4 separate regions of the Homo sapiens genome follow, and regions 2, 3 and 4 are each linked to region 1. Evidence: promoter capture Hi-C in human tissues and cell types (Jung and others, 2019). All regions are on one chromosome and are shown on one strand. The core of a region is centred on a gene start or on the middle of the fragment in contact, and the rest is flanking DNA. Distances in the headings are between cores, read along the strand shown.

Region 1 (7,340 bases), core at 2,921-5,420:
ATATGCATTTGTTACAATTTACAAAATAATTTTTCTTTTTTTTTTTGAGACGGAGTCCCGCTGTTTAGCCCAGGCCGGATTGCAGTGGCGCAATCTCGGCTCACTGCAAGCTCCGCCTCCCAGGTTCACGCCATTCTCCTGCCTCAGCCTCCCGAGTAGCTGGGACTACAGGTGCCCGCCACCGCACCCGGCTAATTTTTTGTATTTTTTAGTAGAGACGGGGTTTCACCGTGTTAGCCAAGATGGTCTCGATCTCCTGACCTTGTGATCCGCCTGCCTCGGCCTCCCAAAGTGCTGGGATTACAGGCGTGAGCCACCGCACCCAGCCACAAAATAATTTTTCAAGTGAATAAAGATACAGAAGAATGTGCATGATATACTGACAGTGTCCTTTCAAATGCATTTTCTTATTTTTATTTATTTATTTAAAGAGATGGGGTCTCTCTCTGTTACACGGGCAGGAGTGCAGTGGCATGATCACCACAGCCTCGAACTCCTGGGCTCAAGCAATCCTCCTGCTTCAGCCTCCTAAGTAGCTGGGTAGCTGGGAATACAAGTGTGAACCACTATGCCCTACAACATTTGTGTCTTTTTTTTTTTTTTTTGAGACACTGTCTTGCTCTGTTGCCCAGGTTGGGGTTCAATGGTATGATCACGGCTTAACTGCAATCTCTGCCTCCCAGACTCAAGTGATCCTCTCACCTCAGCCTCCTGAGTAGCTAGAACTTCAGGCATCTGCCACAACACTTGGCTAAATTTTTCTTGTTTCCTTTTTGTAGAGATGGGGTTTTGTCATGTTGCCCAGGCTGGTCTTGAACTCTTGGGCTCAAGGGATCAGCCCACCTCAGCCTCCCAAAGTGCTGGGATTACAGGTGTGAGCCACTGTGCCTAGCCATCTTTTCTTTTTAAAAGCTACTAATGTTAGCCAGGTGTGGTGGCTCACGCCTGTAATCCCAACACTTTGGGAGGCCTAGGCAGGGGGACTGCTTGAGCCCAGGAGTTTGAGACCAACCTGGGCAACATGGCAAAACCCTGTATCTACAAAATAGAAATTAAAAAAGTGAAAAGAGAAGACATCTTATATACATTTGTGTATGAACTACAATGCCTCTAAAAGAATGCATAAGAAACTGCTTACAGTGGTTGCCTTTGGGAACTGGGGTCAGCAATGGGAGAGTTAACTTTTCACTGAATATCCTATTGTATCTTTTAAATTTTGCATTGTGCTATGCAAATGATAGTACATAAATAAATGAGGTAATGAAACTTTACTAATAAAATGCCAATTGATTTCATAAAACTTTATAATCAAAAATTAGAATACCTTTAACAATAATTTTCAGTCTTGTTCATAGATTTTTTTTGTTTTTTGGAGGGGGAAAGTCTGCAGAAACTGTTCAGTCCTATTCAAACAATTATTCAGTAATCGTTAGGTGCTAGTGATGCAAATATAGGAAGACATGAGACTAAAAGAGCTCACAATCTAGTAGACAGAATGAACATGTATTCAAATAGTCTCAATATAAAAAGTTACTTCTCAAAGCTTCTTTAATAGCAACTGAGTATAAACCCAGCATTACAGAGACTGCCTTCTGGGTTAAATCAGCAAAAATGACAGCCCAATAAGAAAAGGATAGGGAAGTGTGACCATGATTGAATGTAGGAAGCAGGTGAAAGTAAGACCAGAGACCAATGTGAGTAGGCTAGGCTCTGGCCAAGTGACAGTGATGAAGAAAGAGCCGTAGCTTAACGATTAACAGCACTAGAATTATCCAGCATGATTCTGAATAGCTGACAGTATTATGTAATAAAGCAAGAAAAAAGGAGCAGGTATGAGTGATTAAGCAAATATTTTATATAGACTACTGATAAACCAAAAACATTCCCACACTCTGCTATTCTTTTAAAAAATAATAAGCTCTTATTTTAGCAATTATATAAGATATGACATTTTATGGTAGCTGGAGATGAGACACAATCAGTGGGTTTTGCAATAATGTTAGAAGTAAAGGGATGAAGTATTTAATATTATGTTGTTAATTTTTTCATGTACATTGTGGTAAAATATTATTCCTACTACAGAGTAAAATATAAATAAGATAATGGTATTTTTCATCTTGATAACATCTTTTCATCTGGAGATCTTAAAGCATTTGCAAATGTTCATTAATCCCCAATATCCTGATCAGATACACTAAAGAAGTAAACTGGGGTACAGAGAAGGTGAACAGCTCAAGGTCAATTGATAAACCAATAACAGATTTGGATAAAGATATACATTCTGGTTCTTGCTCCAAGTTCTGAGTTATAAGTCATATTCCCATTATAAAATGTTTCTTCTCTTAAAAGAACTGCAGAAGTTGTTTATCTTTGATGTTAAATAACAAATGATTAAATAGAGTTCAATAAATAGAAAACAAATGTAAAAACCAAAGAAATAGAACTGGGATGATTTTGTATCATAAAGATTCTAGTCTCATTTGTTAGAACAAAATGAGAAAAAACATTATTAAATTCTAGGGTTGGGAGGGCCTATTTATTGTCTATATTTTCCCAGACATTGTTCTATTTTTCTATGGACTAAGTTATTATGTCTAATACCTATTTTAGTCCTTATACAATCTTCCCTACAATGCAGCTATTTTAATTAACAGAACAAATGTATGATTGAACATCAAGGAAATAACCAAAACCATAATTAGGCATGCAGTACAGTATATTATAAATAATTATGATTCTTACATGGGAACAGAATCCTCTACATTTTATAGGGAACTGAAGATTATAATAAATCCATATAGTATCATAATGAACTTAATGATTATTTACTGTAAAAAACATGAAAAAAGGAAAATTTAAGTGTTTAGCACTACATACAATCCACAGCACTTTTCAGAAACAACTTCTGTATTTTATTCTATTAAAAAGCTATTAATTCTTAATATTACTTTTGATTTATTGTAGAACAAGACTCATTAGTTCCAAGCAGAATTTAGTAAGATTGAAACTCTTTTTTAAAAATTTAAATTATTACATGCTGAATTTTAATCAGTGAAACCAAAGGTTTTCTTCCTAAATGCCTACCTGCGCATTGGCTTTCCTTCCATGCACCATGAAAAGTACCCTTCACCACACTCTAAAGCCGAACCTAAGACAACAGAAAAGCAGGAACTTAATAAAAGCTATTTCTGATCTTTACAGTAACAATCTTTATATAATCATTTCACTCATTTCGTCAGTTATCAAGAGTTTCATATCCTATTATACCACAGGCCTTCTGCAGATGCACAATAACTTAATCTAGTACATTTAAGATTACCATCCTTACTCTGCATGCTAAAACGATTAAAGTAAAGGTGAGGGAAAGTATGCTAAATAGTCCCGACTGTTAGGTCAGTCTTGTTTCTCTTCAAAAAGTGCTTGGAGATATTTAACTGTGATCTCGACATCAAGTATATTTACAGAACAAGCACCAGATACCCACAGCAGTACTAACCTGATAGATCACATAGGGTACACGAGGCTTTAATAACGAATCTGAAGATTGTTAACTTGTCCCGAAGTGACAGGAGGAGGAGGCGTCTGCATTTGCCTTTACAAACAACTCCGCTTCCGACAGTCCAGGGAGCTTGAACAGGGCAGGGAAAGTATGGCTCCAGACTAACACTCTTTACAAGCATTTCCTTCAGTCCCCGATACAATGTTCACTACCCACGTAGCAGGATTTCGCCAGGTCCCGAGGGTTAAATGGGGGCGCACGTACTTTCTTCCTTCCCTGAATTCCAAACACTGTCTGGGGAAGCTGTCCAGGATGCGAAACCCCAGCACCACCAGGCAGGACAAAGCCCGGGGCCTCCTCTGGCTCCCGAGATAGGCTGTCAGCCAGCGAGAGCGCACTCTGGCGCTCCGCGAGGCCCGGCCCCAGCGCCCCAACAGTCTCTTCTCGGCGCCGACTGACAGGCGACCGACCTGACCCCATGGGGCAGCTCAGCAACTTGGGACCACATATCTGCGAAGCGAGCCCTGGGGCGCTGTCCGCTGTCCCCTGCTCTAAGGTGACTGGCTCACTTACCGGCTCTGACACTTTCTTCTCTGCAGCAGCCTCCTCCGTCTACTCCGCCCTCCACTCCTCTCTGCCTCCTCCTCCACCGCCGCTAACGCAGGCAGGATGCCGCTCGTAGAGCTATTTCCTTTCCCTTCACCGGCCCATATCCAGAAGCAGGAAGTAGTCCTATTCTTAAATCGTTCCCGCAGGAACCCACATAATCCGCCAAGGGGTTCCGGTGCGGCTCCGGAAGTAGTCGTGCCCTTTGCTGGGGCATTCAGGTAACCTCAGAGGTTGTTTATCCTCGTGGGGGTTCCTTGTATCCCAAGAGTAACCATTTTTAGAATTCACTGCGGAACTGGCAGTATTTGAATACTGAAGCCTCCTCTTTTCTTCTTTGTTTTCGCCAGCAAAGGCAGTAAAGGGTAGTCACAGAAAGCTAAGAATTTGTATTTCTTTTTAGTTGGTGGGTCTCCTTTTGGCACAATGTTCCTAATTGTGGATTGAATTATTGCATGCACACATGGGTTGGCATGTATCTGTCAGGCCTCTACTATGTGCAAGGTGCAGAAGTTAGATAGACAGACCAGAGATAGACCTTATCCTCCAGATTTCCCACGGTCAAACTTTCAGGACACCAGGATTTTATCCAGGCTCTAAGGCTGTGTTAGTCTGCCCTTTCTACTTAGTATTCACCACCAGACACTTCACCAAACACATCTTCTGTGGATTCACTTTAATGTTAAGGAGGGAAGAGTATATTTTCTTAAAAAAATTTTTTTTCAGTAGCAAGCAGAGCCAAAAAAGTATATTTTTAAAATTATCTTTTCCTCCAGATTTTCCCATAGCACACAGCCACCTGATTTTTACCGTATATTAATATTTAGAAAACAAGTGATACAAGTGTAAGGTGGGGATTACAATTTCAGGAATATCAGAGAAAGACTGTTGCTGATTTCCTGGTAAGTATACTAGGCTAAGTATTAACCAGATTTTCTTTAGCTGTTCTTTATGTAGAATCTACACAGGTGTGTCCAGTTGTTTCTGAGGGGAAAGGATACCTCTTGTTAATTAGCTTGTAGTGGAAAATACATGGCCTTTAGATCCAGATATAGTGGCCCAGTGGATTCTTCTTGCCTGCTGCCCAGATACAGATGATTTATCAAGGTATAGGGATTGCAATGGAGAAAGAGTTTTACACAACATCGAGTGGAAAAATGGAAGAAGTTTTATTATTACTCAAATCAGTTATATTATTACTCAAATCGGCCTCCTGGAGCATTTGGGGGCTAGGTTTCTTTTCAAAGGTAGTCTGGGGAAAGGGGTAGGGGTGGCTAGGCAATGGGTGCTTGCTGCTGACTGGTGCAGTCATAGGGGTATGGGAGATGGTCCTCCTGCCTACTGAGTTGTTTCTGGGTGGAGCCACAGGAACAGTTGGTGGGTCCAGGTGGAGCCATCAGTAGTCAAACATGCAAAAAACTTAAAAATATACCCAAAAAGGCCAATCCTAGATTCTACAATAGTGATGTTATCTGTAGGAGTAATTGGGGAAGTTGCATATCTTGTGACCTCTGGAATAATGGCTGGCAATCACTTATGTCTACACTTAACAGAATTCAGGCTCATCTATCCCCGTTGTCTGGTGGTCTCTCATTAGCTTTACAAAGGCAATTGAGTTTTGGGGAAGGACTGTAATTATTTAAACTATTAAACTAAATGTCTCCCAAAGTTATCTTGGCTTAAGCCCAGGAATAATTAAGGACAGACTGAAAGCTAAAGGCAAGATGGGGTTTGGCTAGATCAGATCTCCTCCACTGCTATAATTTTCTCACTGATAGAATTTTTGCAAAGGGGGTTTCAGTTTGCAAAGGCGATTTCACGGATACACATAGGTACAAATCCTAGACCTGTAACTGACTAGCTTTGTGATCTTATTGAAAATTTTTACTGCATGTGTATATGTGATATATATACATATGCAGTAAAATGATTTCTTTTCCATATTTTAAAACTTTTCATAAATGGTATCAAAGCATATGTATTCTTTTGCAACTTCCATTTTCCACTCAACATTCTGTTTGTAAGATTTGTCCATGTTGATCAATGAAGGTCCAATTCAGTGATTCTCAAAGTGTTGTCCTGGACCAGCAGCATCAACATCACTTGGAAAATGCTAACCCTTGAGCCCCATTACAGACCTATTGAATCAAAAACTGAAGGTGGGCCCCAGTAATCTGTGTTCTAACAAGTTCTCCAGGTGATTATAGTGCATGGTAAAATTTGAGAACTACTGCACTAATTTATTTATTTTCACTGCTTTATAGTATTCTATTATATGAATATACCATAGATTTTTTAAAACATTTTTTTCTGCAGATGGATATTTTGACTATTTCCAGTTTTCTCCATTACAAACAGTGCTACAATGTAAATTCTTGCATATACCTCCTTGTGTACACCTGTAGGTGTTTCTTTGGGGTGTGCACGCAGAAGCAAAATTGCTGGGTTGTATGCTATGCACAGCTTCAACTGTATTAGCACTAGTCAAATTGCTCTCTAAAGTCATTATTCTATTTCAGTAATAATAATACTAGCAAATACTTATGTAGCATGTTATAGTAACTCATCAATACTCACACTAGTCCTCTCGAGGTAGGATCTATTATCATCATTCCAGTTTCACAGATGGCACCAAGATGTTATGTAAGTTGCCCAAAGTCACACAGCTAGTTATGAAGTAGAGCAATAACTTGAAACCATACACAATGGCTCTAGAGTCTGTGCTTTCAGCTACAGTGCTGTGTTGTCTCTCCATTACAAGTGTTTGAGGGTTTTTGTTGGTCTATATTATCATCACAGTTGGTGTTTTCCAACTTTAAATTTGTTTTTGCCAATTGGTTGGGTATAAAATGGTAATTCACTGTGGTTTAAATGTTTATTTCTCTCATTACTGTTCAAACATTTTTCATATGTGAAAGTGGCATTCAGATTTCCCTTCTGTGAATTGCTTATTGTAAAAGATACCTTCAAAGTGACTCCTATTTTTTCCGTAATATGAATTAAACTATTTTTATAATTCATAGTATAGGTATGAAAATGTTACTATATGGTATAAAAATGTTACTAAAAATGCTGCTAACCAAAGACTGATTTTAAAACTCCTGTCCAGGATAAGAGCAGTCCCTCCTATTTTTGTATATCTGTGATTCACTCCCCAACCCACTGCAATCTGGTTTGTGCTTCTGCTACTCTGTTTCTTTTTGAAGTGGAGAAGTTCAGTGTGAATCAACCCTTT
Region 2 (7,340 bases), core at 3,516-6,015, 460 kb after region 1:
TCATGTTTCTAAGATAGAGTAGTAGGATAATGCAGTAAGAGATGGGTAGAAGCCTCATGCTGTCTTCATTCTATCCAAGTTTAACTCTTGCCCCTAAGGCCAGAATCTACATCAGGCTGTGAAAGTTTCTCAGTTTGACTGTCTCTCTTCTACCATTGTTATGGACCGAATTGTGTCCCCTTCCCCCAAATTCATGTGTTGAAGCCCTAGCCCCCAATGTGATGGCTCTTTGGGTATTTTGAGATGGGACTTTTAGGGGTAATTAGGCTTAGGTGAAGTCATGAAGGTGAGGCCTTCATGAGAAATCAGTGCTCTTATAAGAGACACCAGAGCTGTCTCTCTGCCATGTGAGATCACAGCGAGAAGGTGGCCATCTGCAGGCCAGGAAGAGGGCCCTGGAACCAAATCAGCTGACATCTTGATCTGAAACTTCATAGCCCCCAGAACTGTGAGAATAAATTTCTGTTGTTTAAATCACCCAGGCCATGGTATTTTGCTTTAGCAGCCCAAGCAGAGTAAGATAATATTTAATGTTAATTATGCTCAGAATCTGGTGACTATGTTATTAATATTCTATTTTACCATGTTTTTGTTTGTGAACTCCCTCCAGTCTTCATTGATATGTTTATGGACAATTGGGGCAAAATCAGGCATTGCTGTCTTCCTACTATTTAAACCAAGAAGTTCAGCCTTGGTGCGTTTGGCTTAACTTCCTTTATCTTTTCAAGAAATTTTCAAGGAATTGTAAGAACTACCCTCTCTTTTCCACTTCCACCTTTCTCTCTTTCTTTGAATAACACCCAAATAAAAATGATGATGTTATTACAATGGTATCTTGTTAGGACACTAACTGAATCCTGACCTACACCAATCCTCCCCTCATTTAGAGATTCTCTGAGGTCTTGGAGGTGGGGGCACAGATAAAAACAGACAGATTGTGACGATGAAGTAAGACAAAGCAAAGCAAAGAGATGGTTATTTCTTAGTTATAAGGTTAGCTCCTAAGCCTAATGCAGAACTCTAAAAAGTTTCAGTGGATCTTGTGAAGAACTCCCTTTTGCTGTGCTAGTATGTGTCTAACTAGTCAACAGTGTAAACTGTCTATTTTTGTTTCACAAACAAAAACCCACATGCAGATCATACCCTCTTTTCCACTCTGTTTGCTAAGAATAAGGGAACCCAAAAGAGGCCACACCCACATTATAACGATTGTTAACTTGGCAATGTGGTAACATTTAATACCAAATAGCCAATACAATCCTAAACTTAAACCTAAATAATACTTCTCCATAGGGACTGGAAAGAAAGGAGATGGGGAGAAGGAGCCTTGAGCTCCCCCTAGAGGTCAGCAATTACAGTCCCATAAATTAGGTTTGATATTATAAACTGACTTTTGCTTTCTTATATAATTAAATTTTCCTTCACCAATCGTCCTGCCAAAGTCTGTTCAGAACTTTAGGGAGCATTAAAGTAATTAGATAAAAAGGAAGCATAAGTAAAGCACACAGCCTAAAAAAGGCACAAAGACACATGCTGTAATTGTACACACATTCTTTTTGACCCTTGTTACAAGCAGCCTGGTAGGGGCATGAGCGTTGAGGTTTTTGCCTATCTCAATTAGCCACTTCAGTTAGAAATGACCACACAGGTTACTTGAAAAAGAGAAAGACTAGTTTTACCCCCTTTCCCCAGCAACTTCTCAGACCACTAATTCAGAATCTCTAAGGGTGGGACTCAGTGTTTTTAAAAAAACTTCTAAGGTGTCTTTAATGTGCAGCCAAGTTTGAGAACCAGTGCACTGTGGGCAAAGATTTGTTCTTCAAACCTAGCTTCTTCCTTCTGAGCCCCATGTCTTTTCTCTTTTTATAATTTATGATTCCATTTTCTATGATTCCATTTTGTTGCAGGCAGTTCCTCTTTGATCTCTTTTATATTTTAATTTTGTCAATCTTATTTTCTTCACCACTTTCAGTCTCTGTTCAAAAGATGCTTCTAATTTGCAATTATTAACAATAAGCCTAAGATAGTCTAGGTTTACCCCCATCACCCTTGATCTGGTGATTCCTACTCTTCCAGGAGCCTGGACCTTGTTTATGAGAAATAGGTATTAAAAAATTATAGAAGGTCATTTTTTAGACTGAACTTTTACTAAGTCCCAACAGGTGAGAACAAGCCAAAATGGAGTCACTTTGCTAAACGCCACATAGTGAAACTGAAACTTTAAGGGAGCAGACAGAACCCAAAACAGACCATTTTATCCTGAAAACAGGAGATTCCAGTCTACTGGAGTCAGTTGAATAAGGAAGTCCCTTCTGCTTTAACTCTTAGAAAAAAAAAGTGAACTGAAGCAGCCTGATATTAATAATCAGCCATTTTTTTCCCTACTATTTTGTTTCCTTGTTCCCACCTTACAAAACCCACTGTATGCCATTGCCTAGTGGGAACTCATATTCTATTTTATAGAATGGAGGCTGACCTGATTAATGAATTGTGAATAAAAACAAGTTAGATTTATAACTAAATTTGTTGTAACTTAGTCTTTGACAAAGGTAAAGATCTCTATCAGGCACAAAGGCCTCAACTAAAGAGTTTGAGTCTTAAGACTTTTCCTGAATTCATCACACTTTGACTGATGGCTACCTTTGCATTGTATTAATTTGTTCAAATTGCTCCCCTTAGAACTCGATTTTTAAATAGAACATCAAAGAGTTTAAGATCTTATACACAAATTCATCCAACCATAACCCTAAATTCAATAGTAGACCTAATGCCTCCATCTCTCCACTTCTGTAACTGTCCTGGAATGTCTTTCAGAAAGCTGGGAAGATAGACTGCTGGCTGCATATTGACTTCTTATCTACTGCATACACGTCCTACAACTAATATTTAGACATGACTAAAGAGAGACAGGGTAACTTTGAAATTTCTAATAGAAAAAAACTCATCTCACTTTAATTTATATGCTTGGTTCAATTTTAGCAGGAAAACCCCACAACGTCAGAGGAGCTTATCCAGCTACCTTCACAGCATTATGTAGTATTCTCTGTCCACAATCCCCATACCAGAGTAGGGCAGAAACTAGACGTTCATATGTCTTGGCTTTATCCCTCTAACCCATAGCTCAGTTCTCTCTTTGTTACCAGGCAAGAATCAAATGAGAAAACAGTTGCCAGGTCCTGATGTTTTTGCCTCAATTTGTCTGTGTTATTAAGGTTGAATTGCAAGGCCTATGTCTTCTTCATTACTCCCCTTCTCCAACTCCCAACTTTACTTTTTTGAATACTCACACTCTTACCAAGTATCTAGGAGAACCCTTTGCCAGCACGGCATGGGGCAGAGTCACTGGTCTACTATGGATCCTGTTCCTCTAGCTTCTGCCGGCTTTCTTCTTTGCCATATGCCTTTTGTATTCTATTCTAAGTTCGTTCACTTATGTTTGAGGATTCTTACTTTTGACCTCCCTCCCAGATAAATGGGGATACTAGAGCTGAGCTCTTGTGGTTGGAATGGTTATGACTAATATACAAGTATAGGGCTTGAAGAAAAAAAAGCCTGATAGCTGAAAACTGCAGAAGAGTTGCCTATGAGAGAAGGTCTAAAATATCAAGTCCAGATAAACAGGGGAAAAGCAAGACATTGACCAAAATTGAAGGGTCAGCCAAAAATTCTGGTAAGACAGAGTGAATGGATTTAAGAGAAAAAACCTGAAAATATTCCTAAATGCAAGGAAGTACAGGGGATGGGAATCTTTTATAGTTTGACCATGGCTGAGCCCATGGAAGGGAGGCATGTAAGATTTCAAGGAAGTTCTGAAACTTATCCTGCTAGAAGGAAGCTTGTAATCATTTCATCTGCAAACTCTTAAATACATCGTAAGTATAATTTTCACCAGAAATTTCTATGGAAGTTTTCTATTACCAGGGTGTTCTGTGAAAAGTCTGCTGCAGTTCCTTGTTCATTTGGGGAAATTTCTCTTGCTCTCACTCCTGATCAGTGCTCCCCCTGATGTCTGAGTTGCTGCTTTCTATCAGCCTTCAGCATGGGTTCTTCACAGTTATGAACCACACATCCTACTTTGGTGGGAACAGTTGTTCCCTAATTGTAGTCCAAGCCAACCTGCAGTAAATATAGACATTGAGAAATTTCCTATGCAAGGCAAGTAAACGTTCTTCCAACCTAGATTCAGGGCAGAAGTGCAGTGAGTATGTAACCATTTAATATCTAGTATTGCACAGATAATTATCTCAAAGGAAGAGAAAAATGGTGGAAAGGCTCCTTAAGGAATTCCCTATATTTAATTTCAGCAAATAATTATGTATTTTAATAATTTCAACAATCAGAGCTTCACATCTCTGATTAGATTTGTATGAAGATTATATGAAGCTATATCAAGAGATCCAAAATTAAGCTGTTAAGCGTTCTTCCAACATAATTATTGAAAATTGGACTTACCTTGTAAGATAGACTTTCTGGAAGACTTTATTTTTTCCCTCCCTCCTTTCTTTTCTATTTTTCTTTCTATCATGAGAGTTGAGGACTGGAACTATTATAAAAAGTGGAAGAATCAGTATTTTGACAGTATTATCTATTAACATAAAACATTTGATCTAGTTAGCCAACTAAAACCATCTATTAACATAAAACATTTGATCTAGTTAGCCAACTAAAACCATCTATTAACATAAAACATTTGATCTAGTTAGCCAACTAAAACCTGCCTAAAATTCAAGCCACACAATAACAGGGCATTTACCTTATTTTCCAATCATAATTCTCTGTCTTCTAGAAAGGACTTCAACAAAGGACACGTTCCTGTGTTTCTTTCCAGGGAAAATAGGTTGCCATATAGGGTAGGCACAAATCCTTATAATGGCAATTGACACAGGGGCCTTAGTCTTAAGCATTGACTCCTCCACAGTAGTGTCATTGTAAAAACCACAAAAATGATCACAATAACCATAAGAACTAACACTTATTGACAATTTCCCAGGTACTCTGCTGTGTCCTTTATATGTATTTTCCCTTTTAATCCTTAGAATACCTCTATGGGATAGAAACTGTTACCATCCCTATTGTACATATAAGGAAAATAACACTTAGATTAAATAACTATTGCAAGGTCACACAGCTGCAAGGGCTAGAACTGGGACTGAAACCATGTCTTCCTCACATACCCTCCCCCTGGCCCCTTTCAGACATCTTGAGGGCCCACCTTGGTCAGCCCTTCCCACATGTGAGATTGCCTCATCTATTCACCAAATAGGTATTGAGTACTATGTGCTAGGCACTGTCATAGAAAATGGGGGTTCAATAATGAACAAGATCAGTCTCTGCTATCAAGGGGCTCAAAGATTAATTCAATTTCCCTTCAATTTTTTCTGTAACAAGATTTCTTTTCAGATTTCTTTCTTGGGCAATTAACAAGAAGTGAAAATTTAGATGCCTGTACAGAACCTGCAGTTAAATGGTGTGAAGTATGCCAGGCAAAGGTAGAATTCTGGGAGCAAAGCTGTTTTTATTTTGACCAAATGCACACATCTGCCTAGTTTTTGCCATATTAAACACCTGGCGGCTTTATAGTATCTATGGACTGTATTTGTGCCTTCATTTTCAAACGTTTCCAAACCTAAGTGTTCATCAGAATCACCTGTAGGGCTTAAGACAGACTGCTTAGCCCCATCCCCAGTTTCTGATTCAATAGGTCTTAGGTGGGGCCTCAGAATTTGCATATCTAACAAGTTCCCAGGTGACATGGATGGTGCTGATGTGGGGACTACATTTTGAGAAACATTGTCAGGCCACCTATGCATAATTTTAGTCTTCCTATTATATTAGTTATATTATTTCTGGTGAGATTCCTAAGGAGTTTAGTCTCTCAATAGACATTTGATCTTAAAAGCCCCAGATCTCATACTACTTCTCTCCCTTCAATCCTCCAAAAAATATTTATTGAGATCTGTGTTAAGAAACTGGAGAGGCCGGGCGCGGTGGCTCACGCCTGTAATCCCAGCACTTTGGGAGGCCGAGGTGGGCGGATCACGAGGTCAGAAGATCGAGACCATCCTGGCTAACATGGTGAAACCCCGTCTCTACTAAAAATACAAAAACTTAGCCGGGCGTGGTGGCAGTCGCCTGTAGTCCCAGCTACTCGGGAGGCTGAGGCAGGAGAATGGCGTGAACCCGGGAGGCGGAGCTTGCAGTGAGCCAAGATGGCGCCACTGCACTCCAGCCCGGGTGACAGAGCGAGACTCCGTCTCAAAAAAAAAAAAAACAAAAAAACAAAAAATGAAACTGGAGATACTGAAATGAATAAGACAGTATGGCTGGTAGCTTTGTACATATAAGACATGATTTTCTGTCTCTTAACCTCTATTTCTATATTCTCTTTCAGTATAATCTGTTCAATTTATTGAAATTTGTTTCAGGGTGATGAGCTAAATTATAAGTTAAACTAAGAATTCACCTACATTTTATTAATGTGTTAAATGGTAAAATTAATGAAAACCTTTAAAAGTTTTCATAGAACAAATAAAAATAAACAAGTAGATTAAAATAAAGATCTCAATTTAGTCACTAGATGCCGTATATATAGGATAGTTAGCTATCGAATGGCTTCTCAGGTGCACTGACGAACAGGGAGTATGCTCAGCACTAAATTTTCTTTGGAAAAGTACACATTTGAAGATTTAAGAGGTTCAGGAACTTTTTTTTTTATTTTAAGTTCAGAGGTACATTTGCAGAATGTGCAGGTTTGTTACATAGGTAAACATGTGCCATGGGGGGAAATAGAACATATTATTCTTATGAGTTATCAGTATGACTACCATCGATACTGCCAGTATCACCCAATATTTATTAAGTGTTGACTGTGTGTCAAGAACTATGGTTCGTGTTAATGATGCATTATCTCTTCCTGCTCACGAACTCTGTGAAGCAGGTACTATTATTATCTCCATTTTTACTAAGGCTTTAGGCAGATTTAATACTAAGTGTTGGTACTGAGTGTAGTCTTGCTGCTAAAGGCAGGAAGCTGTGGTGTCCTGGCACATGAACTGTTAATATACTGTGTGCTTGGGAATTAGGTAGACTTAGGCTATTTTCCAGAAGTCATGAGTGCCCTGCCCAGGTCCACCCACTGACTTCACAGCCCAGCTGAGTTTTGCCCTTTTCTTGTGTCCTCCCACCCTGTGGTGTACTGGGTGTGGCACTGCTAAAAGAATGACATCACAAGGAACAGAACACTTAGCTCTACCAGAGTGTAGCTTTCTAAGAGACACTAAGAGTATAGCTTTCCCTTGCTATGATATTGTAGAAATTGAATGGACAGTTTTATTTTTGGA
Region 3 (7,340 bases), core at 2,257-4,756, 320 kb before region 1:
TTGGTCTCTCAAAGTGTTGGGATTACAGGTGTGAGCCAGCATCACACCCAGCCTTCATTATCTCCTTATGAACAAGAGCTGATTTAAGCTTGGCCCAATGCTTACTCTCAGCCTACAAAAAGACAGTCTCCAATTGTTCAGTAGATAAAGTTGTTTGTAATACAAGTAAACTCTTGGTTAATACCCAAGGATGTGCTTTTTTTGGTGGCTATTTTCCTAGGGTATCGAAATACATTGTATCCCATATATTCTTTGGGTGATTTAGAACACCGATGAATTTTTTAATTCGCTCTAACCTTCAATAAATTTCTATATTTTATTTAGTTTTTAGAGACAGAGTCTCACTCTGTCACCTAAGCTGCAGTGCAGTGGCACGATCATAGCTCACTGAAGCCTCAGTTCCTGGGTTCAAGTGATCCTCTTGCCTTAGCCTCCCGAGTAGCTAGGATTACAGGTATACACCACCACGCCTGGCTAATTTTTTTTTTATTTTTTGTAGAGACAGGGATCTCACTATGTTGTCCAAGCTGGTCTCAAACTCCTGGCCTCAAGCAATCCTCTGGCCTCAGCCTCTCAAATTGCTGGGATTATAGGCATGAGCCACTGCACTCAGCCCAGTAAATATTTCTGAGTCTTCAACCTCTTATGAAGGTCAAAACCAAACTGATCTCTTGGATTGATTCCAAAATCTCCACTGAGTATACTGGAAAATATGTTTTTGCATATTCAACAATATTGGGCAGTTTTTCCTCCTACTCTTTAGCAGGATGACTTCACAGTCCAGATCCTGCAGCAGATTGCCAAGCTCAATTTCCAGCTCTACCACAGTTTTGATGAGTGACTGCTGGGCGATAACTTAACCTTTCTCTTTCCTACATTTCCTCATTTGTAAAATGGTGATAATAATAATACCAATTTATAAAGCTGTTTAAGAATTTAAATGAGTTATTACATTCAGAACAATGCCTGACACAACCTCAGCACTCAATTAAGATTAGCTGCTAGCTGGGCATTGTGGCTCACGCCAGTGATCCTAACACTTTGGGAGGCTGAGGTGGGCGTATCACTTGAGGTCAGGAGTTCGAGAACAGCCTGGCCAACATGATGAAACCCCATCTCTACTAAAAATTAGTCGGTCGTGGCTGGGTGCGGTGGCTCACGCCTTTAATCCCAGCCCTGTGGGAGGCCGAGGCAGGTGGATCATGAGGTCAGGAGTTCAAGCCCGACCAACATGGTGAAACCCCATCTATACTAAAAATGCAAAAATTAGCAGGGCGTGGTGGCATTCACCTGTAATCACAGCTACTCAGGAAGCTGAGGCAGGAGAATCGCTGGAACCCAGGAGGTGGAGGTTGCAATGAGCCGAGATCACGCCACTACACTCCAGCCTGGGTGACAGAGCAAGACTCAATCTCAAAAAAAAAAAAAAAGAAAGAAAAAAAAAGGATGGAAAAAATCTAAAGATGCCTTAAAAACTGTTTTAGGTTTTTATATCAGTTGCAGGAAACATAAGCACACTCAGATTATATCAAGTAGTAGACGGTTTACTAAAAAGATATTCAGGGAAATTTTAAAAAGAAAATAAAGACGAATCTTAGCCACAAATCTCAGCCAACCAGGAAAATAGGAAATGGCAAGATCACTGGATCACACAGGAATAATGTGAATCTGAATACAGCTGAACTAGACAGAGTCAATACTGTGGTTTCTGAACTAAAAACTTCTTCAGGATTCAGCACAAATAAAGCATCCCCTCTGCTGCAAGAACTTGCTGACATTTCCTGAGTGCTCAGCTATTGACATCGTATCTTTTCTCTACGATTCTGTTTCTCTCAGGGTGACTTTCTGCCCTTGCTCCTAATACCAACTAATTGACCCCCTAAATCTATAGATCAAATACCAGATAGATTGTTGCTAAGGACCTGATGACAAAGCTCTCACTCCAAGTTCTTTCATAGGAAGCCAGCCAGTCAATCGTTTGCTGTTCTTGGGCCAATGGCACTCACCTGGTCCAGTCAAGAGGAACAAACACATCCACTTATTCTGATACCCAAGGATATCGCATTGTTAAAGATTTCCCTAGAAAGAGGCTGTGGGTACAATTAGCCCTTCCAGTGAAACAGACTGTTCTTTGAATATATATACATAAATATATGTATATGTATATATATCAAAACAGGGTCTCACTTGATCACCCAAGCTGGAGTGCAGTGGCGCCATCTTGGCTAACTGCAGTCTTGACCTCCCAGATTTCAAGCAATCCTCCTGCCTCAGCCCCATAAGTAGCTGGTACTACAGGCGTACGCCAACATGCCTGGCTAATTTTTGTGTTTTTTTGTAGAGATGGTGTTTCACCATGTTGCTCAGACTGGTCTTGAACTCCTGAGCTCAAGCAATCCACCCTCCTCGGCCTCCCAAAGGGCTAGGATTATAGGCATGAGCTACCATGCCCAGCCCTGTTCTTTGATTATATTTGAAGCATGTAAAAATGTTTGGTGGTATTATCAATGACAGAATTCAAAGCTTTAAGCTAAAAATAAAAATAATAATAATATTTTTAGGCTCTCACCAGTAAGATTAGAGATTATCAGAATGAGAAGAGAGGTCTTTCAGTCCAAACTAGCAATATCCTATCCATGACACTGGCCAAGACAATGTCCATACCAGGGTCCTATCAGGCTTGTGGAAGATACTCTAAATATTTAAAACAGACAATGTTTGATGTACGGAATTAGTTACATAGGTGTTAGGAGGGGCAATCCAGAGATTAGCCACCAACAACACTAGTTTAAAGGGACAAAGAGAGGAAAATGTTTTACTGGGGCCCAGGGACTAGGGTTTCCTGGTGGAAGCCTGCTCAGCCTCAGGTGGGGCCATGAAGGAAACAGCTGTTGCCCAGGATTCCACCTGAAGCAAGAGGAAGAGAATCAGCAAGAAGTAACTTGGCTTCTTTTTCCTCCTTCTTAGCCAAACACACCAGGAAGGCAGCTGACACAGGAAGGCCAGTCCTTACTGTGAATCAGGGATCAAGTAAAGCAAGAAATGGATCTGGAGGTAAACAGTCTCAGGACCAGCCCTGTATCTCATGATTAACTGAGTCAAATTGGTTATTACTATCATTAAAAAGAGAAAGCCATTCAAGCTTTGGATTGGCTAAATTTACTTGAGATATCTAAGAGAGTCAGTACTGTTATAATATAGACTGAGTACATTGGAATGAGTATAACTGGCTTTGAATCCTAGTTCTGCTATTTACTCTGTTTTATTTGGAGTGAGTTATTGAACCATCCCAAACCTCAGTTTCTTATTCTGTAAAACGGCAGTAATAATATCCATCTTCTAGTATTGTAAAGATTCAATATAATGAGTATAAAGCTTCTAGATGTGGGGGATGCTTTCTTTTTATGATGGTGGTCTTAAATACCTGGGCTCAAGAGATCTGTCCTCCTCAGCCTCTCAAAATCCTAGGATTACAGGCATGAGCCACTGCGCCTGGCCAACAGGGAAATCTTGCCATGTCCCTCTTCAGCCTTTCAGACTTTGCTCTTAAAATAGAGAATAGCCCAGTGAGGTGGAGCTTGCCTGTAGTCCTAGCTACTGAAGAGGTTGAGACAAGAGGATCACTTAAGCCCAAGAGTTTGAGGTTACAGTGAGCTATGATCGTGCCACTGCACTCCAACCTGGAGTGAGACAGAGTGAGACCCTGTATCTCCTAAATAAATAGATAAATAAAAATAATGGATAATTTTTTCAATTTATGTTCCATGCAATATTTGGGACATATACTAGAATACTATTGTTTATTTAAAATATAAATTAGTTTAACATCCTGTACACTATCTAGCAAACTTATCTTAAAATAAAGCTCAAATGATTTGAAGATATTGAAAAAATAAATTAAATAAAGCTTGAAATTCCTACTTTGGCTTCCAAGGTCTACCTGCTGGCCTCTGTGGCATCTTCTTTGTTTGCTAGGCTCCCTCTGAATCTGTATACTTTCTTCAGCCAAACTGGATTTCTGTTAGTTCCTTAAATATACCACACTTTTTCCTACCTCAGAGATACTGCACATGCTATCCTCTGCCCTGAAACATTTTACCCCTCGTTTGCCTAGCTAATTCCTACTCATCTTTTCACTTCAGCTTAAACATCACTTTCTTGAGGAACCTTCTCTGTTCATCAGATTAGGTCAATTCTTACTGCTAAACATCCCCATGTACTTTGGCCTTCAGGACACTTAACATACTTGTGGTTATTTAATTATAAGTCTTCTATCTCCCACACTAAACTATAAGCCTCTGAGGGAGAGACCCTGTCTGTTTTGTTTACTGTTATATCAACATAGCACGGCCAGACGCAGTGGCTCATGCCTGTAATCCCAGCACTTTGGGAGGTTGAGGTGGGCGGATCACCTAAGGTCAGGAGTTCAAGACCAGCCTGGCCAACATGGTGAAACCCTGTCTCTACTAAAAATACAAAAATTAGCCAGTTGTGGTGGCAGGCGCCTGTAATCCCAGCTACTTGGGAGGCTGAGGCATGAGAATCATTTGAACTCGGGAGACAGAGGTTGCAGTGAGCCAAGATGGTGCCACTGCACTCCAGCCTGGGTGACAGGAAAAAAAAAACAAAAAAAATAGCACGATGTCTGTGGTGTTATGTGGCACATAGGAGGTTACCAAATATTTGTTGTGGTTGTAATAAAGTGAATACGAATTAATTTTGTTCTGTGACTTTTATATCATCACTTGAGAACATTTGTGACTCAATTAGATGTTGCAGAAACAAGGTTAAGTATCTTTGCAGAAAAAAAAACCATAAATGAACATTTCAATTTTGGTAGTTAAAATATTTTTGCAAAAATGTAGAAAATAATTCTTTTTCCATGTAATTTCAGCAAGGAAGGCTTTGATTGCTTGATTGCCCCAGATGAAATGCTTGATTAGAAAAATTCTTCCGAGATCACGCCACTGCACTCCAGCCTGGGTGACAGAGCAAGACTCCGTCTCAAAAAAGAAAGAAAAAGAAAAAAAGAAAAATTCTTGTTAGGAATTCAAGAAAAAAACATTTATTTTTTGTAATAGTTTTTAGCCAAGGAAGAGATTATTTTATTCTTCTTTTTCTCCCCTAGGATATAAATCCTGACTAAGAGAGAAATTGATATGGACACTTTCCCCTTGAGAAATTAGTGCAATATTAGTTTTAAAGTAGACACTGAACATTCTTGACAGATGGGTAAAAAGTCCAAATCAAAAGCTTGACAGGAGGGCTTATTATTTGGGAATAATAAATGAACTGAGTTAACAGAAGGAAACATGTCATTTAGGATACCTTCACTTCAATTTAAGTGAAATGGATATAGATGTACCTTGAAGTTTTGAGACTCTGACAACTGCAATCATAAAAATCAGGGCACAGAAAAAGAAAAAACATGGATAAGTCCTTTAAACTGAGTAAAGGGTGTCTATATGGGAAATAGAAAAATAGATTATTTCTGCAGTCCCTTGATTTCTACACTCTTCCTTATAGGTGAAACTATCTCAGTGGCTAACTTAGGCAGAATAGGAATTTACTAGGAGCAAACTGAGTAGCTCAAAGTTTTTTTGTTTTGTTTTGTTTTTTTGAGATGGGGTCTCACTCTGTCACCCAGGTTGGAGTGCAGTAGCCTGATCTTGGCTCACTGCAGCCACTGCCTCCCAGGCTCAAGTGATCCTCCCACCTCAGCCTCCTGAGTAGCTGGGCCCACAGGCATGTACCACCATGCCTAGCTATTTTTTTTTTTATATATATTTTTGGTAGAGAAGGGGTTTCGCTGTTCTGCCCTGACTGGTCTTGAACTCCTGAGTTCAAGCCTCCTAACGTGTTGGGATTACAGGCCTGAGCCACCGCGCCCAGGCAGTTCACAGTTATGAAGAACAGGAATTGAGAGAACCTAGATAGCCAGAATCACAGCTAATGTCAGCCTTGAAATGCCCTGATAAGAGTACCACTGCCACTGCCAGTGGATGCTGGCCATCACCTCAGGGATTGCTGCCATCAGACTCTGATGTCCCACCAGACTCTTGGTACCAGCGCTGCTAGTGGGATGAATTCTACTTAATTCTGTGTAACTTACTGCAGATTCACAGTCCCAACTAACAGCATCTATAGTCGTCCAAGCTTAGATCACTTTCCTTCAGCCTAGTTGGGTGTGTATTTTGTGTTTGGCAGATTGAGGGAGGGCATTTAGGCAAGTATCTGACCTTTCCAGTCCTTATAGTGGGAGAAGAGACCCTGCCATCCACTAAAACTCCCAAATGGAGAATTCCCAAAGAGAGGGAGGAGGAGAGAGTCAGATGCTGGGCAGCCAAAATTACTAATGTTTACAACACTTACACATCCCTCAGGGCTATATAAGAACCTTGCCCTATCCAACAGCTACTACTGCATCCTTTCTACCATTGTAGGCAGTAGGTTACTAAATTACCAATAACTTTATTTAAACATACCTATACACACTTGCGCACACATCCACACAAACTGATCCACTGACTTTTCCTTTAAGTTCTATTCCTATTGAGACAGAAGATATTTTTCTTTGTTCCAGATTAAAGGTAATGAGCACTGGTATCATTAAATTTAACCATAATATAGCCCCTAAACTCAGAGGATAAATCAGACAAAAATGTATTTTGATGAAGAAATCAGTGTTGAGAGAAGGTAAATTCAGCCATGTGGAAAGCCATGAAGTACTATTTAAAGGATCCCTTTTTAAAAGATGCTCCCTTACAGCCTGTTGCTGAAAAAAGGGAGCTACTCTGGGGCATCATTCTCCTCTTTACATTGGTTCCTGAATGAGTCCTTATGTTCCTTTTATTTTATCTGATATTTGTAAATGGAAGCATTAGGAGAATCTGGCCATTCCTGAACTCAGTTTCACATGTAGTCTTGTATAGTCATTTGTTTATGTGATAATTACTCATGCAGGATTACTTATAAATATTATGTCTGTGTTGTTGTTTTGAATGACTAATTCCTTGGAAGGCAGGAGCATTGTCTATTTAATTAACTGTGTATTGCACCAAACACTGTAAGGCTTTTAATGCCGCCATTGAATATAATAATAATATACTTTCCCTGGCTATAGCAAATAAAAAAAAATCTCCCTCCACATAATAAAGTTTTGGCAAGCAATTGTCTGGGCACCAAATCTGGCCTGCCACTTCCTTTTGTCTGTTTTTATAAATAAAGTTGTATTAGAAACACTCATTCTTATTTGTTTATATATTGTCTACAGCTGCTCTAACACTACAATAACAGAGTCAAATAGCTGTGACAGAGACCATATGCCATGTAAAGCCTAA
Region 4 (7,340 bases), core at 4,700-7,199, 260 kb after region 1:
ATTAGCCCTTTGTCAGATGGGTAGATTGCAAAAATTTTCTCCCATTCTGTAGATTGCCTGTTCACTCTGATGATAGTTTCTTTTGCTATGGAGAAGCTGTTTAGTTTAATTAGATCCCATTTGTCCATTTTGGCTTTTGTTGCCATTGCTTTTGGTATTTTAGTCATGAAGTCTTTGTCCATGCCCATGTCCTGAATGGTATTGCCTAGGTTTTCTTCTAGGATTTTTATGGTGTTAGGTCTTACATTTAAGTCTTTAATCCATCTTGAGTTAATTTTTGTATAAGGTGTAAGGAAGGGATCCAGTTTCAGCTTTCTACATATGGTATACTGGCCACATTTCAAGTCCTCAGCAGCCACCTGTGGCTAGTGGCTGTTATATTAGACAACTTAGTTTTCATATTTTTTCAGGTTTAAAACTTCTAGTTTGACCCAACGTTTCCTTCTCCTACCACTTATTTCTCTGTTCATGTTTCTTTCTTTCTCTTCCTTCATACATTGAAATACATCTTGTTAAATCCAGGCTGGGTGTGGTGGCTCATGCCTGTAATGCCAACACTTTGGGAGGCCAAGGTAGGTGGATCACTTCAGCCCAGGAGTTTGGGACCAGCACCTGGGCAGCATGGCAAAATCCCATCTCTACAAAAAAAAAAAAATACAAAAAATTAGCCAGGCGTGGTGGTGTGCACCTGTAGACACAGCTACTGGGGAGGCTGAGGTGGGAGGATTACTTGAGCCTGGGAGGTTGAGGCTGCAGTGAGCTGAGATCACATCACTGCACTCCAGCCTGGGCAACGGAGTGAGAACCTGACTGGGAAAAAAAAAAAAAAAAGAAAATCCAATGGAAGCTTTTCTTCAATTTCAATGCATTTGACAGAGTTGATTACTTTTTTGGAAACACTTCTTTCTCTGCTTCCGTTACACCAAACTCTCCTATTTTTTTTTTTTGTTTGTTTGTTTGCCTCTCACTGGCTACTCTCTCTGTTTCACCTCTTCTCTTACTTCTGAATGTTGGTGTGTCTCAGGAAGTTCTCTGGCTCTTTTCTCTATCTGTAGTTTCTCTGGAGATGATATCTAGTCCAGCGCCCTTAAATAACATATATATGCTGTTGATGCTAATTTTTATCTTCAGACAAGCTCAACATTTGTATAGCCATCTATCTGCCAATTTGACACCTTGATCTGAATATGTCACAGACATTTGATATATATTCAAAATTTAATTCTTAATTCTCTTTCTTTCTAACCACAACAAACTCATTCCATCCACAAATGAATATACTATTTTCCCTTTCTCTTTAGAAGGATCATCCTGATTCCTCCTTTTACTCCCCTCCCACAGGAGCCTTAACACTAAGTCCAAGCGATTCTATCTCCAAAGCATATATTGTAACTGTTCGCCTTTCCCCATCTTTACTCCTAGCCTCTATATTCAAGTATGCTTATTATTAATTTATTTCCTCTTAGTTCCAAACTACCTTTCTTTGTCCTACTTCACGATACTGGAGATGTACACTGCAAACTACATTTTTTTCTCAGATATCTGGCTTTATATTAGGTTCAGCCAATTAGGGGCTAAGGGAGTGCTGAAGGGATTCTCAAAGTTGGAGAAGGAAAAAGAGATTTATCTTCTCCTGTTATTTTTGCCTTCTCCACATGACAGTGAATGGGTCAGCACATACCTGGCCCCGGCAGTATTCCTTGTGGTGGTGAATTGTTCCTGTGGTTCCAGCAAGTGAATGTCCCCCGGAGGTTTCTTCTTCACCCCAGCAGTGGGTGACATGTTTCTGCACCAGCTGAACCATCTCCTTAGAGGCCCAAATGTTAGTCTGCTGGAGTCCTTTCTCTCTTTCTAAGTTTCCTCCTTGTTTACCTTTCCTTTCATCTTAAGAGTGATAGCTGTAGTCTGAGGTTGCCACCTCTATTACACCATACAATTCTCTTTTATCCTTTTTAGTGGTTAACCACCTTTTTACCAAGTTAACAGTTCTTCATGATTATACTTTCTTTATTTGAATTACTGTGTGGTTTCTGTCTCTTGACCGGACACTGGACTCTTAACGGCAGTAGTGATCACTGCAAGGACTGTAGCATAGGATGGATATTTCTGAGTGTAGTGGAGTGCTTACAGACAGAAGATGAAAAGCTCAGGTCCTTAAGCTCTTGGTTTAGTTCTCGGTCTGAGAACTAGAGGACTTCCATGGCAGCCCTAACAGGATCTTTTATGTCTTGTAGCCACAGGGTTGGTATTGTTAAAAATTAAACACAAAATTTAATTTTACAGGTTGCAGAACTACAACATCAGTAATTTTCTTGGGAAATTAATGCCAAGTTTCTCATGTGAAAGTTAGGTCATTGATTGGGAAGGAGACCCCAAAACTTGAAATGGGCACATATGGTTGGTCTCAAGTGAGAGTGAGAATCTTGAACCCCTGAGTTGCTCTGAGTCTCCCTTGCCAGTGGGAGTATCTTGCTCTTGTGTATCTGCAGAATTTTTTTCTCCCCTCAAAAACCCTGTAATTGCCTCTCCTGGAGCAAATACTTCACAAACAAGAGGATGCTCACTCTCCTCGGAGCCTACCTGAAACACCCGTTACTGCTGCTAGACCCATAACTAGGGTCAATTGTCATCATATTCCAGTGGTGTGGAAGTGGCAGCCAGTCTGTGAATATAACTCTGGCCCTGAGTCCCAAGTTTGCCCCTTATTCCAAAGAGTCACTGTTTGCTATGCAGAGGAAGTATGGGCCAAGATAACCTCACCAAACACCGGGTTCCAGATTCTCAAGCAGTCCCTTTCAACACCATGGTTTCAAAAAGTAAATTTGAGAGGTAATTTTAAGGCTCTTACATAGAAGAATTCTCCCCAAAGAAACATATCTATGGTGATTATTGTTCAATTCTGGACCTCTCAGCATTGTTTCCTTGCTTTGTCACTTATAAAATAAATATACTTCTAGCTTTCTGGCTGTATGGGTGATACATGGCATAGAAATCTTGGGTGGGAGAAATGGGGTGTCTGGCAGGGACAGCCCCTTTCTCTGAGATTTGTTCTCCTGAGCTTTCTGAGTGCTGAGTCATTTTTAGCAAATGGCTGCATTTTAGCTGTTGAAAAAGAAGATCTCTCTTCCAAGGAGAAGGAATGTGGGCTTGTCCTAGTCTTTAGATACTGAGCTCAAGTGTCCCTAAACTAAATTGTTTCATTTTACAGAGGGCTAGACAATTAAAGTATATAAACAGAGTATTTACATGTGTTATATAGTCAGTAACGCTGTTTCCCAAGAGTCCCCATGGGCAGATAGGTTTATTTTACAATTAACAATCACAACCCTTTGTGAAGTTTTGATTGGCAGATTAGAAGCCCAGAATTTACTCTTACACCTCTGGGGTTTTTGTGTGCCCACTTAGGTATGAAGTCAGTTCTTGTCAGTAAGCACTCAGCTTTCATTTCCATCTCATTAGCTGAGAGTACAATCCCACTGAAAACTCAACTGTGGCTTGAGGCCTAATGGGCACCTGTTAATTTTCCTCTGTTCCATAGTCCCATCTCTCAGATCAACAACCTGATCATAAAGGTAGGTGATAAAGGTAGTTACTCATAAAGATGTGTAACTAATTCACAGAGAAGCATCTCTAGTGGAGGATAAACAATTGAAAGTACATAATTCTGGCCAGGCACAGTGGCTTATGCCTGTCATCTCAGCACTTCGGGCGGCTGAGGTGGGTGGATCACCTGAGGTCAGGAGTTTGAGACCAGCCTGGCCAACATGGTGAAACCTCATCCCTATTAAAAAAAAATACAAAAAGTAGCTGGGCATGGTGGTGGGCACCTGTAATCCCAGCTACTTGAGAGGCTGAGGCGGGAGAATCGCTTGAACCCTGGAGGTGGAGGTTGTAGTGAGCCGAGATTGTGCCATTGCACTCCAGCCTGGGTGACAAGAGTGAGACTCTGTCTCAAAAAAAAAAAATTTAATTAGAAAAAACAAAGTACATAATTTTGTTTGGAGGCGCTGAGAAGAGATGATATTGGTGTTGCCTTTTTATATAAAGTTAGGTATTTAATATTTAAGACAATTTACAAAGTTAAACTTTGTGCAAGGTGCTGGTATAAAGCATTGATGAGTTTATAGTGTGATGTTCTTTTCCCTGACTTCTTTTCCTATATTTGCTCATTTGTCATTCCATTTTCTCTAAACATTTCTTCTTTACTATTTTTTCTCTTACATTATTTAAGTGTGTTACAAAAATAATTGTTGTCTATTGAGATTCAGCTATCCCAAAGCAGGAAGATATGGATTTTGAGTACTTCTTATAGCCATGGTGGGCTGCACTCCTGCATTTTGCCTTTGCCACTAACAGCACCTGCTTATGGGACAGTTAGAGGCATGGGAGTAGTAGAAGCAATGCTAGGTGCCCTACCGAGATCAATTCCATAATGTTAGACACTAAGCTGTAGCCATCTGCCCCTTCGAAGTCTATCTTTGTCTTGCTCCAGCATTAATTAGTACAATTCCTACTTCTCTCTGAAACAATTTTAGTTTTAGGTCATTCTCTCTGCCTAGCTACCTTGCCCATATGAAGTCTGGAAAATTTCGTTACGCAGAGGTGTGCCACCCAGAAGAAAATGGTTCGGAGTGGCTCCATTAAGCATAATCTGAAAACATAAAGCCATGTATTTACGATTAGTCTAGAATGAACTCTTGAGGGTTGGGGACTCTGGCTTTGTATTTTCTTGTGGCTGCCTAGCACATTATGTTTTACTTGCCCAATAAGTCTGTTAATGCTTACTTAATAAATACCAACAGCCATGAATAAAAACTAAGAAGCTAGACTGGGTATTTCAATAGTCAGGTGGACAAATTCTGTGAGAACAAACAAGTAAGAGTGACTACCTTATTCACCTTCCTTTCCAAGCTGGGGTTTGTTTTTTTATTCCAGCCTTGTAACCTAACCTGGTATCAGAAACTGTTGATCCAAGGAGGAAAAATGCTGAAAACAAGGCCAGAGATGAGAGATATCTACACCTCAGGCTGTTTCGTAACAGGTGTTTAGTAAAGACATCACTTTTAGTTTATATTGGCTCATACTCTGCAGAGCAAGTGGAACGAGACAAATCTGGGAACCTGGGCTCAGTGCCACAGTTATACTCAGAGACCTGCTGCCACTTCCAGGCTGCTGGAACATGTTGAAATTGGACTCTAGTTATGGGTCTAGTGGCAATAAGAAGTGTTTGGGGTAGATTTTGAGGAGAGTGGGCATCCTCTCTTTTGTGAGGCATCAGCTCCAGGTGAGGCAATTACAGGGTTTTCAAGGGGGTAAAAAAAGAAAAGACTTCTTAAAAGACACGGAAGGGCAAGATAGTTTCTTTTTCTACAAGTTTATTAGCTTTAGACTTTATAGTCTATGATCCATTTTGAGTTCATTTTGTATAAGGTGTGACATATAGTTTAGGCTTATTCTTCATATGTATGTATGTGTGTATGTATGCATGTATTGTGTGTATATGTATGTATGAATTTATGTGCATCTGAATGTCCAAATGTTCCAGTATCATTTGTTAAAAATACCATAATTTCTCCACTGAATTCCTTTTACATCTTTAAAGAAATCAATTGACCATAAATACAAAGGTTTATTTCTGGACTGTCAATTCTATTTCATTGATTTATCTTTTCCTTTGCCAATCCCACATGATCTTGACTACTATAAAGTCTTGAAATCAGGTAGTATGACACCTCTAATGTTATGTTTTGTTTTCTTTCTTTTGGCTAATCTGGTTATTTTGGTTTTCCATATAAAATTTTAATTGTCTAAATCTACAAAAAAACCTACAAAAATCCTTTGGATTTTCAATTGGAATTGCATTAACTCTGTAGATTAGGAGAATTTACATTTTAACAATATTGAATTTTCCTTATCCATGAATACTGTATCTCCACATTTATTTATATCTTCTTTGACTTTTTCATCAATCTTTTGTATTCAGCAAATTGATTGTGCACATATTTTATTGTTTATAACTAAATATTTTCCTTATTTTTGGTGCTATTATAAGTGGTATTTTTGAAAAAAATTCAGATTTCAATTATTCATTGCTGGTATATCGGAATATAATTAACTTTTTTATATTGACTTGTACATATGCTGGCACCTTGCTAATTCACTTACTAGTTTAAAAGCTTTTTGTAGATTCAATGAAATGTTCTACATGAACATGTTATCTATGTATGAATAAATATATTTTTGCTTTTTCCCTTCCAATATTTATATCCTTTACTTCTTTTTATTGCCTTATTACACTGGCTAGCACTTTCAGTACACTGTCGAATGTGTCAAGAGAGGACAACTTTTTCTTCCCAGTCTTAGGGGGAAAGCATTAGTCTTTCATCATGAAGTATAAAGTTAGATGTAGGTTTTTCATAGATGCCTTTTATTAGTTTAAGGAAGTTCCCTACTCTTTCTTGTTTGCTGGAGTTTTTTTTTTTTTTTTTTTTTTTTATCATGAAGTGATTACTGAATTTATTCTAAACTTTTTCTTCATCCAATAAGATATTCATGTGATTATTCTTTTTTAGACTGTTGACGTGGTGAATTACATTGATGGCTTTTCAAATGTTGAGTGAGCCTTGCATTCTGGGGATAAGCCCCACTTGATCATGCCATATTATTAATATCTTTTAAATATATTTTTGGATTCAATTTGATAATATTTTATAAGATTTTTGTGTCTGTGCTCTTAAAGGATATTGGGTTGACATTTTCTTAATTGTAATGTCTTTGGTTTTATTGGGTAATGCCAATCTCATAAAATCAATTGAGAAGTGTTCCTTCCTCTTCTTTATCTGGAAGAGATTATGTAAAATTATTATTTCTTCCACAATGTTTGGTAAACTTCATCAGTGAAACCACTGGGGCCTAGAGAATTCTTTTTGGAAGGTTTAAACTACAAATTCAATTTAAAAGTTATACATACATATATATGAAATAAATCATTGCTTTAACATAAACTTTTTTCTTCCTGAATGAATTTGGTAATTTTTTTTAATTTTAAAAATTAGTGCATTTTGTCAAATTTACAAACAGCTTTTCATAGTACTGTTCCCTTGTTATCCTCTTAAGGTCTGTGGGGTTAATAGTGATGTTTCTTCTCTCATTTCTGATGTTTCTAATTTGCATCTTATTTTTCTTGGTCATCCAGGCTAGAGGTTTATCAATTGTGCTGAACTTTTAAAATAATCAACTTTTAGTTTCATTAATTTTCTCTATTGTTTTTCTGTTTCCAATTTATTTGAGTTCTGGTCTTCTAATAATACTTTCCTTCCTTCTACTTACTTTGGGTTTAT

The links. The method cuts DNA at HindIII sites, captures the fragments that hold promoters and counts their contacts. A contact is called where the count stands out against the background at its distance.
Region 2: a fragment that was not itself captured here is called in contact with the fragment with the promoter of KLHL20 in region 1 in 1 of the 25 tissues and cell types used here (neural progenitor cells).
Region 3: a contact is called between a fragment that was not itself captured here and the fragment with the promoter of KLHL20 in region 1, in 1 of the 25 tissues and cell types used here (hippocampus).
Region 4: a fragment that was not itself captured here is called in contact with the fragment with the promoter of KLHL20 in region 1 in 2 of the 25 tissues and cell types used here (hippocampus and mesenchymal stem cells).

The regions. Positions count from the first base shown.
Region 1 is chr1:173,711,811-173,719,150 of GRCh38, reverse strand. It overlaps KLHL20 (kelch like family member 20), which reads right to left and starts at 4,170. Exons shown (of 12, transcript NM_014458.4): 1 at 4,073-4,170; 2 at 3,085-3,148. The coding sequence starts at 3,107. It also overlaps a transcript of ANKRD45 not described here. RefSeq lists enhancers at 3,627-3,996, 4,077-4,266. The HindIII fragment of the contact is 13,268 bases long and covers 1-7,340 here.
Region 2 is chr1:173,249,395-173,256,734 of GRCh38, reverse strand. The region is part of intron 2 of LOC100506023 (a long non-coding RNA gene); the gene reads left to right. It also overlaps a transcript of TNFSF4 not described here. Among named protein-coding and RNA genes, the nearest start is that of TNFSF4, 46 kb to the right of the region's middle. The HindIII fragment of the contact is 6,748 bases long and covers 1,392-7,340 here.
Region 3 is chr1:174,032,634-174,039,973 of GRCh38, reverse strand. No RefSeq gene overlaps it. Among named protein-coding and RNA genes, the nearest start is that of RC3H1-DT, 14 kb to the right of the region's middle. The HindIII fragment of the contact is 4,399 bases long and covers 1,307-5,705 here.
Region 4 is chr1:173,449,891-173,457,230 of GRCh38, reverse strand. The region is part of intron 1 of PRDX6-AS1 (PRDX6 antisense RNA 1); the gene reads left to right. All of the region lies in intron 2 of LOC100506023 (a long non-coding RNA gene), which reads left to right. It also overlaps a transcript of TNFSF4 not described here. Among named protein-coding and RNA genes, the nearest start is that of PRDX6-AS1, 7.8 kb to the left of the region's middle. The HindIII fragment of the contact is 4,874 bases long and covers 3,513-7,340 here.